2 separate regions of the Homo sapiens genome follow, and region 1 is linked to region 2. Evidence: promoter capture Hi-C in 16 types of primary human blood cells and fetal thymus (Javierre and others, 2016). All regions are on one chromosome and are shown on one strand. Each heading gives the region's core, a stretch centred on a gene start or on the middle of the fragment in contact. The rest is flanking DNA. Distances are from core to core; before and after follow the strand shown.

Evidence for each region. The method cuts DNA at HindIII sites, captures the fragments that hold promoters and counts their contacts. A CHiCAGO score of 5 or more calls a contact.
Region 1: a fragment that was not itself captured here is called in contact with the fragment with the promoter of STK17A in region 2 in 1 of 17 cell types (M1 macrophages); the score reaches 6.2 in M1 macrophages.

What each region holds. Positions count from the first base shown.
Region 1 is chr7:42,953,241-42,958,327 of GRCh38, reverse strand. It overlaps LOC105375253 (a long non-coding RNA gene), which reads left to right and starts at 2,199. Exons shown (of 3, transcript XR_927207.3): 1 at 2,199-2,373; 2 at 2,871-2,951; 3 at 3,843-4,201. The HindIII fragment of the contact is 843 bases long and covers 2,935-3,777 here.
Region 2 is chr7:43,579,026-43,584,425 of GRCh38, reverse strand. STK17A (serine/threonine kinase 17a) reads right to left here and starts at 1,318. Exons shown (of 7, transcript NM_004760.3): 1 at 977-1,318. The coding sequence starts at 1,182. RefSeq lists enhancers at 229-338, 469-518 and a silencer at 919-1,698. The HindIII fragment of the contact is 5,737 bases long and covers 1-3,683 here.

The DNA.
Region 1 (5,087 bases), core at 2,107-4,606, 630 kb after region 2:
CCTGATTAATCTTATAAAATAAATTCTGCATGTGAAGAAGCTGGCTAAAATTAAAGGATATTATTTTGTATATCCATAAATTGAGTATTAAAATAAAAAGACACTGATATAGGGCCAGAATCTGGGCCCATGTATCAAAATAACAGAGGTTTCTTAGAGCATTGATCTGCTCTTTAACAAAAAATTATAGAGTTATAAATGGTTTATAAAAGTCTTACCTTACGGTCAAACTAATAGACTGGCTTACAAGGTTTTATAAAAAATTAACTTTAGGTCAAGCATGGTGGCTCAAGCCTATAATCCCAGCACTTTGGGAGGCCAAGGCAGGTGGATCACATGAGGCCAGGAGTTCAAGACCAGTCTGGCCAACATGGTAAAACCCTGTCTCTACTAAGAATACAAAAATTAGCCAGGAGTGGTGGCATGCACCTGTGATCCCAGCTACTGGGGAGGCTGAGGCATAAGAATCATTTGAACCTGGGAGGTGGAGGTTGCACTGAGTTGAGATCATGCCACTGCACTCCAGCCTGGGTGACAGAGGGAGACTATGTCTCAAAAAAGAAAAAAAGAAAAGAAAAAAAATAACTTCACTGTTAGTAATGCAACAATACAAAGGTGAAATTTGTTTTTCTTTTTTAAACAAAATTTTCATATAATATTGAGAGATAATGAAAGGGTTTTCTTTGACTTTTGAGTAAGCTACAGGAAAACAAAGAAAACAAAGAAAAAAAAGACAGAAAGAGAGAAGAGACAGATTTAGTTGGCCTGGTGTTTTCTTTATTGGGTCTTTGTATTAGGCTTTTCTTGCTATGAAGAAATACCTGAGACTGGATAATTTATAAAGAAAAGAGGTTTAATTGGCTCACGATTCTGCAAGCTTTATAAAAAGTATGGTGCTTGCATCAGCTGGGCTTCTAGGGAGGCCTCAGGAAGCTGACAATCATGGCAGAAGGCAAAGGGGGAGGAGGCATCTCACAAAGCAAGAGCAAGAGAGAGAGAGAATATGGGTGCCACACGCTTTTCAACAGCCAGATCTCATGAGAACTTACTCACTATTGTGAGAACAGCACCAAGTGGGTGGTGCTAAGCCATTCATGAAAAATCCACCTCCATAATCTAATCACCTCCCACCAGGCCCCACCTCCAATGCTGGGAATTACAATTCAACATGAGATTTGGGTGGGGACAAATATACAAACTATATCAGTTTGTTGTTTAGAAAACTGAGTCTCCCCTCTATTAGTGAGTAAAGGTTTTTGTCTTTTGATATTTTTGAGTTGTCATTTCAGCTAAATGAATAATCTGTGATTCCATTTTGTGTTATCAAATGTTTTAAGCCGTTGATATTTGACAAACCTTCCAAAATTGAAATTCCAAGTTCTAAATTAAGCCTTTTTAGATCTCATTAACCTTTTTAAATATTACATCTCCTGAAGTCTAAAAGAGACATATTTGACTTATTTGGATATTAAAATCATACAGGAAGCATTGTGAAATATAAAATAATGTTTAACTTTCTTGGATTCATTATACATTCATATAAATGTATTACTAATATCTGTTCCAAAACTGTGTAAGATTCCTATAATTCTGATATATCTCAGTATATGCTATCAGTAATAATTAATGGTTGCTATGTTAAATTATTGTGTGCCACAGAGATAATGAAATTTCCTTGTCAATTGTGTCTTCAACCAAGGCTGCTCTGAAACTGTTGTCATCTATAATTGTTGTTTTATTTTGATTCTTTTCAAAATGCGGATTTATAATCAGCTATAGGACTCTGATCCTATAGGTAGGTGCTCTTGAATGCAGGTTTCTGATAACTTTTGAGAGTATGACATTAGAATAAAGTAAAAAACTTCCAAGACTCCCATGAAGAGCTAATGTGTTCATGAATATCAAGCAGAAAAAGAGTTGATTACACAGACTGAACTAATGGAAGACCAAAATAATCTTTTTATGACTTTTTGTTTAAAGTATTGGTAATTCCTTTGTTTTTCAAAGTCCAGAAAATCTTTCTTTTTCTTTTGAGTGATTTACAGAGTATATTCTTGTGAGAAAAATTTGAAACATTTCTGTCCTTTACCTGATTTCTCCAGAATTTGAAAACTATTTGTAAGTATACTTAATTTATGGCAGTATGTTTATTTCTATAAGTTCAATAAAAATCTGTTTTCTTTTTTTTTAAACAGGACACCATTGAAGGCACTGGTTATTTTACCAAGGCTTTGACTGGAATGGCATGGTTTCAGTTATAAACAGACTGCTTTAAGGAATCAAAGTTGACTTACAGAGCTGATAAAAGGCCCCTAAGAAAAACTGGCCTCACCTCTTGTCTATATAGTCCCTATATAGGTTTCCTGACCTGTGGTAAGTAAAGAATGTCACTTTCTGACAGGCCTAGGAGCTCCAAGTTTTTATGGGATCTTGAAAGGAGAAGAATTTACCCAATTCATACAGATATTTGCAGGCAGATAAATCCATGGCTGAACTCAGGGCTTTAAACAGTCTAATCTGAGATTTCTTATAAAAAAATAGCATTCCAGCAAAGTCAATTTTTTTAAAAGGGCCTATATGGCAAATAATTATTCTTGCTGCACTTTATACAAATAATGAGGCTAATCAGGCCAAATATAATAATACTAAAACTTGTTTTACAAATAGTTCCATGATTTGTCTTTAGTAAAAATGGGGACTGAAAAAAGAAAATTTGTGTTTCAAAAAAAAAAACTATAGTACACCTATTGTTAGAGTGTAGTCTTGTCCATTGTTTTTGGATCTGTATTATTTTCTGCAATTTGGAATGAATCTTTATTTTTTCCAGGCAACAATTCCCCAGACTAATGCTTTTAAATTTCTTTTTCCAGTTTTTTGACTTGGACTCAATAAAATTGCTGCTACCTTTTTACTGAGGCCTTACAAGCTAAAGCTTATTCCTTGAGACACAGGTGAGAAAAATGAGTCAGATTGCCACTGCCTTCTTCTTTTGAAACTGAAGATAGATTCTGCCCAACATCAACTTTGTTTTTCTTCTGTTTCCATAAAAATACCTCCTATTCACCTTCATCACATATTGAGACCTAGCCCATCTGCAATGGCACCTCCTGGAATGGGAAACAGCCATTTAACTAAACTGATCCATTCTTAAGAACTAGACAGGGTTTATAACCATCTTCATGAATATTCATAGCTCCTCCTGTAATCTGTTAAATATACATATATACATACACACACACACGTATATATACATATATACATACACATACACGTATATATACATACATACATAAGACATGCAAGAAATTCAAGCCATGTTAAACCCAGACCCTACATTGCCATTAGATGGTTTACATCCTAGTTTGGGTCAGGACCATCCTGATGGGAACAGTTACTGGTAATTCTCACTATAATTGTGGGAAATAGGGATACTTCTGTGCTGTGGGTTTTACTGCTGCAGCGCCTTTTGCATGGGATACTAGATAGACTTTCTCAGGGACTTGCAAGGCTCTCCACCATAATGCTGCAACAGGTTTCATCTGAGCCCAGGTACCTGAGAACACTTTCACCTCCAAGTAGATCAGTTCCATTCCAATACCTTTTAACTACACCCCTTTGCAATAGGAAGTAGCTAGAATGAATATGTCACTTGAGTTCCATAGAAATAGAATGGCATTTGATAGTGAGGTGTTGTAACCAAGGACCCTATTTTTGTTATTTTTTTCTTTTTCTTTCTGCAGTCCTTTCTACAACTTATTAGTAATGAAATAATAAGCTTTACTCTCCTTCTTTCTACCAGGTACTTCCTTGCATTGCTAACTTATCTAATTATGTTTGCTTAGAAGTTCCAGGGATTGAATCTTGAGACAATCTGGGTGCCTATGGAATTATCTCCCACCAGAAGATTACTTCAAGGCAGCAGCTAATTTACAACCTGGTCAAGCCTGAGATGGTGTCAACCCATTCTCAAGATGGGACAATAACTCAAGATAAGTCATCAAAACAAGCCACGTAGACCAGCACCACCTCTCACGCCCCCACCCACCACCCCCCACCCACCACATATCCTCCATACCAAACTTCCCCTTCTTAAACCCTAGCATTTTGCCCAAGAATTTTGAAGCAGTTTCATTAAGGCAGGAGCCTGAACCACTTCCCCACTGTTAGCTTTGGAAAATGAAGTCAATTTCCTTATACTGAACCTTGTCCTTGTTATTTAGTTTTGCAAGTGGTGAGCAGCTGAACCTACATTTGGTTGCAGTCTTATTTCTCAATTGGGGCAGTGTCTGTTTCGTCTCTCAACTGGGGCAGCACAGCGTTAAAGCTAGTGAATTAATTTCTTTTATGGAGAAGTTCTTCCCTTACCCTTTATTTTGTAAGGTATTAGTAATAGACCAGTGATGGTTATTATGTTTAGTCATACTAGTGTTAAGTACCAATAACTGTGCTGGGGAAACATGGATATATAATATTTCTGATATTCTATCCAATCTTGCCCTTGAAGAGATTTCCACCATGGGAAATCCAGAACTACTGGAAAGGGACATGAGACCACATACCCAATGAGCATCCTTTTGTAACCTATTAGCATAGTGTTGGGCCCATTGCAAAAAGAGGTTGCTTTATGGGCAACAAGTGGTATAGTAGTACCAAGGCATGAGAACTAAGGAGAAAAAAAAAAGAAGTTGGGTGGAAGCTTGTAAAATAAAATATTCTCCATCTATTAACAATTGTTAATATTAAGCATTAATTTAGATACAGACCTGGTCCAGGTCTTGGGACACCCAACCATGTCTGCGACCATCTTCTTCTCAATTGGCATCGCCTTATTTTAAGTAGAAGATTACTCTCTGGTGAAACAGTCTATTCAGGAGGCTCAGCTTTCCTTAGATGTGAGACGTGAATCCAGGAGTCTATGCCTTCTAGTTTAGCAGCACAAGAATTAGTAAGAAGTACCTGGTAAGGTCCGCTGTATCCTGGTTGGAGACAATCTTTTAAGAAATGTTTCCAATAGACAAAATCTCCAGGTTCAAGTCTGTGGTTCTTTAGATTTATGTTTCCAAGAAGCTTTCTGTGAAAAGATTATT
Region 2 (5,400 bases), core at 69-2,568:
GGCCACCTCTGAGGTAGGTACTGTCATCATTATACGATTTTACGGATGAGGAAAGTGAGGCTGGAGAGTCTAACCCCTCCAAAGGCAAACACAGCAAGAAGGGCACGAATATGAACTCAGGTCTGCCCCCAAAGCCAGAGTATTTAACAACTTCTTCAAACTGTTCTCAAGGAAGAGTCGCCAAACCCCACAAAAATCACTCGATCACCCCTCTTCAGCATACAAAATGTAAAGCATCCGAACAGCCTGCACCTGCAACTTTACAGACCAAGTTGTAAGCTCTCTCTACTCCCACAAAAAAAGGGTGGGCTAGCGTGGGGTGGGGGGAGAAGGCAAGAATCGGTTCCCAGCAAAGTAAAAAGCGAGAAAAGGGCCAAGCGCCCACGAAAGAAACCAATCTAAACTCGAAGCAAAGGGACCTAAATGCTTTAGAACTAAAACGGCAGAAAACCAACCAAGAAAACGAAAATGAATTCAGCAGAAGACCGACACAAGGTAACAGAGCGCCGGTGCAAAGGAAGCGGTCACAACGGATGCTGTATTTTATTAAAACCACACAGGCAGACCAAGAAAGTCGCAAGAGTTGAAGGAAAAATGCAAAGTCGGCTCCACAGACCTCTGGTTTTCAGACCCGCTGCTCGGGGTGAAAGGCAGAGCGCGGCCCGCACCTTCTCTCGTTAAATAGCCATTCGAAACGCCACAGAGAACGAAAGGGCTGAGGAAAGTGTCCGCGCCTCCGGGACCGCCATCGAGTTACCACCACTCGCTTGCTGGGCGCGGCGCGTGGAGGGGGCGCTGGTGCGACTCGGCTGCCCTACTTGCCGTCGGCACCCAAGTTTGTGCCAAGTCACAACGCGCGTTATCGGCAGCAGCAACGCCACTTCAGCCTCGCCGCCGCGGCGCCGGCACTTATCGGCGCCCACGTCCCGCCCCGCGCGTCCGGGAAGGTTCCGCGCCGGGCCCCGCCCGTCCTCACCTGCCCAGCTCCCGGCCCGGGCACAGGCTGTAGCCGTCCTGGAAGGGCTCGGTGCGCACCACGGCGCGTATCTCTGTCAGCAGCCCGCGGGCCTGGGGCGGCGGCGGCGGCCGGCACGGCCCGCTCAGACCCCGGCCTGCCCGGCCCGAGCCTGAGGTGGCGCCTGGGGAGGAGCCGCCGCTGCCTGGCTTCTCCAAAGGGATCATGGTGTTCAGGCCCGCTTCTTTCCTGGCCGCCTGTTCACTCCGAGCAGCCGGAGGGTCACGGACCCGCCCCCGGCTCCTAGTGCCGGTCCGCGGAGCCTTCAAACACCCGCTCTCCCCAGCGCGGCGCTCGGACTGCGGCAGGCAGACTACCGGTAGCTCGGGCCCGCCCCGCGCCCCGCGACCGGCCCCGCCCCCGTGACCGCCCCGCGCCTGCCCTGCACCCTGCTTCTGGCCCCGGCCAACCCCTCCCCACGTCCGCCCCGCGCCCGACCCCGCCCCGGCCTCACTCCGTGGCCGCCCGCCCCCTCGCTGAGCTCCCGCGGGGTCCTGAGCGCCCGATGCCTCACGCGCGCCCTCTGCAGCTCAGGGGGAGAAGGTGCAGCTTTCGGGACGGCCCGGAGGCTGGAGGCGACTCACAGCACCACCCTTTGGCCAGGACAGCCTACTGCGTTAGCAGAGTTGCGCACCTGTTGAGCGTCTGAGAGTCACAAAAGCTGACCTTCGGTTAATAAAAGGCATTTGAGCTGTAAGCGGGACTTCACGTGGTGAGGAGGGGAGGGGTCTGGAGGCACTTCGGTTAATAAAAGGCATTTGAGCTGTAAGCAGGACTTCACGTGGTGGGGAGGGGTGATGAGATCCTGATCTCCGTACACTGGGAGAGGGGTCTGGAGGCAGAGTTGTATAAATATTATTAACCCTGCACACCGGCCCTATGAAATAGACACTATTATATTGTCTGTAGTCGTCTCTATATTTACTTTCGAGGTCCTCTCATCCGGTCTTACGACTTTAATTACCATCTATATGCTCATGACTACAGAATTTGTATCTCTAGCTTCCAAATATTCCCTGAACTTCAGACTGGTGTATTTGACTATGCATTTGGCATCTCCACTTACATGTCAAATTAGCATCTCAGACTTAACATACACAAAAGTAAGTTGCTGATTGGTCTTCATGAATGCACTCCTACCCAGCTTTCCCCGTCTCAGTTTTCTTCATCTCCTTCCTTCTAGCTGTTCAGGCCAAAAATCTTGGGATGAGCATTGATTCCTCTCTCATGCTCATCTCCAGTTTGTCAGTAAACCCTCTTGTCTTTTCCTTCAAACTAGATGCGGCGTTTGATCACTTCTCTCTATTTCCACCTTACCACCATGGCCTGAGCCATCGTTATCTCTTACCTGGATTATTGTGATAGTTTACTAACTGGACCACCTGCTTCCATCCTTCTTTCTCCCTAATGTCGCATAGTTCATTTTCAAGGCAATGAGAGTGATCTTTTAAAAATCGAAACCAAATCACACCACTGCTCTACTCAGACTGTCTCAGTGGAGTTTTGCTTCTGGCACTGATATACTAGTTTATTTGTGTTCAATATTCTCACTAAGAAAAAATAGAAAAGTTGACAAAAGTTAAAAATTTCCTCTCCCAGCAAGGACTTGGATGACTGAAATCCTGGAAAGATAGGCAGCTCAGAAAGCCACCACTTTTCCCATGAGGTATTTGATGATTTTAAAGCCATGGCTGAAAGAGTGAGAAAGTAAGCAGAGCTTTCAGTCATCTCATGGGGTTGGGGAGACAAAAAAAAAATTGGAGTTTAGGACCTATTTATGATGAGGGGCTGGTAAGCAACTAGGCTTTCAGCTGGGACTCCGAAGAGCTATACCCTAGGGGTGTGGATGAACGGGAAATAGACCCAAGGGCTGAAAACCAGCTTCAAATGGCAACAGTAAATATTCTCTCTGGGGAAAAAAAGCATCATTCAGAGCAACACATTACCCATATAATATTTTATACACCATGTCTGAAACTTAATTTAAACAAAGGACACAGAATTGTCTTAAAAACTAAGGGAAAAAGAAAACAGAAATAAACACACAGAAGATCCAGATATTAAAGTTTAAAGACAGATTTTAAAATAATTCTGTTAAATATCTTCAAGAAATTAAATTGCAAGATAAAGAGTTTTCAGCAGAGAACTGGAAACTCCAAAGAAGAATACAATGGAATTTTGGAATTGGAGAAAAAAACACACTAACTAAAACTACTACAGAATTATGGGCTTAATAACAGATGAGATACAACTTAAGCAAGAATTAGTGAAGCTAATAAGCAAAACAAAATATGAAAAATGACATACAAGAGATATGAAAGAACTTTCTATAAAAGAGATAAGGTCTCAGAAAGGAGACTATGACACATGTGATATGTGGTAAAACATTCTAACACACACGTAATTGGAATATCAGGAAGAGAGGTGAGAGAAAAAAGGAAAAGAAGCAGTATTTGAAAAGATAACGGCTGGAAATTTTTTAAAACTAATGAACAACAATTCTCAGAGTCAAGAAACATTATGAACATAGAGCAGGATTTCAAGCAAAGAAAACCATGTCTAGGCACATTGTAAACTACTGAGAAACAAAATCAAAAAGAAAAGGTTTAAAATCAGCAAAGAAAACAGAGATATAATCTGCAAATGAGCAACAATAAAATTAAAAGCTTATTCTCAAAGAACCAATGGAAGCCTAAACACCTTCAAATGTTTTCAAAGCGCTAGGAGAAATTACCTATCAACCTATATTATATACCCAGTAAAAATGATCTTCAAAATTGAAAATAAAATACAGCCAGTTTTATAACCAAGAAACACTAAGATCATCAGCTGATTTACATTAAAGGAAATTCCAAAAGGAGTTTTTCAGGCAGATGGAATATAATCCCAAATGAAATCATGGAGACATCTAAAGGAATGAAGAGCAATCAATCCTTTTATATATGGATAGATATAAATACATATATATATATGGATAGATATAAATAAACACAATTTATATAAAACAATAAAAATAACGTCATGTGAAGTTTAAATATATGTAGAATTAAAATATACACAATAGCAGCACAAAAAGTGAGATAGAGTAAATGAAAGTAAAGTGTTCTAAAGTCCTAGGATTGTATAGGAATTGATAAAAGTACTTGGCTTTAATACATCAATAATGAATATTATAATCTCTAGAATAACAGCAAAAGTAATAGAAAAAGAATGAATAACATGTAAAAAAGAGGGGAAATGAAAAAATAAAAAATAAAAGAAGCAAGAAAGGGAAAAAAGGAACACAGACAAGTAGAAACAAATAGATGATCACTTTGGGAAGCCAAGGAGGGTAGATCACCTGAGGTCAGGAGTTCGAGACCAGCCTGGTCAACATAGTGAAACCCCCATCTCTATTAAAATAAAACACAAAAAACGAGCTAGGCGTGGTGGTGGGCACCTGTAGTCCCAGCTACTCGGGAGGCTGAGGCAGGAGAATCACTTGAACCCAGGAGGCGGAGGCTGCAGTGAGCCGAGATTGTACCACTGCACTCCAGCCTGGGCAGCAGAGTGAAACTCTGTCTCAAAAAAAAAAAAAAAGGTAAATTTTTTAAAACAGGAGGGTTTTTTGGCAAGTACATTAAATATAAATGGAATCTATACTCCAGTTAAAAGGCAAATGCTATGGACAGAATTAAAAATAATATCAATTATATGTTGCTTGTAAGAGACACCTCAAATAAAAGGCTACAGAAAGATTGAAAGGATGGAAAGAATTATGCCATGTAAATACAGGCATATCTCATTTTATTGCAATTTGCTTTATTGCACTTTGCAGATATTACATTTTTTACGAACTGAAGGTTTGTGGCAACCTTGCATCAAGCAAGTCTACCAGTGCCATTTTTCCAACAGTATGTGCTGTCTTCATTTCTTTCTGTCACATTTTGGTAATTCTCACTATGTTTCAAACTTTATTATTACTATTATATCTGTTATGGTGGACCGTGATCTTTGATCTTTGATGTTATTATTGTAATTGCTTTTGGGTACCATGAATTGCACTCATGCAAAGTTAATTGATAAATGTGTGTGATCTAACTGCTCCACCAATCAGCCCCCCATTTCTCTTCCTCTCCTCAGGCCTCCCTATTCTCTGAAACACAACAATATTGAAATAGACCAATTAAAAACCCTAAAACAGCCTCTAAGTGTTCAAGTGAAAGGAAGATTCCCATGTCTTTTACTTGAAATAAAAGCTCAAAATGGTTAAGCTTAGTGAGGAAGGCATGTAGAAAGCCAAGATGGGCTGAAAGCTAGGCCTCTTGAGCCAGTTAGCCAAATTGTGAATACAAAGGAAAAGTTCTGGAAGGGAATTAAAAATACTACCCCAGTGAACATATTAA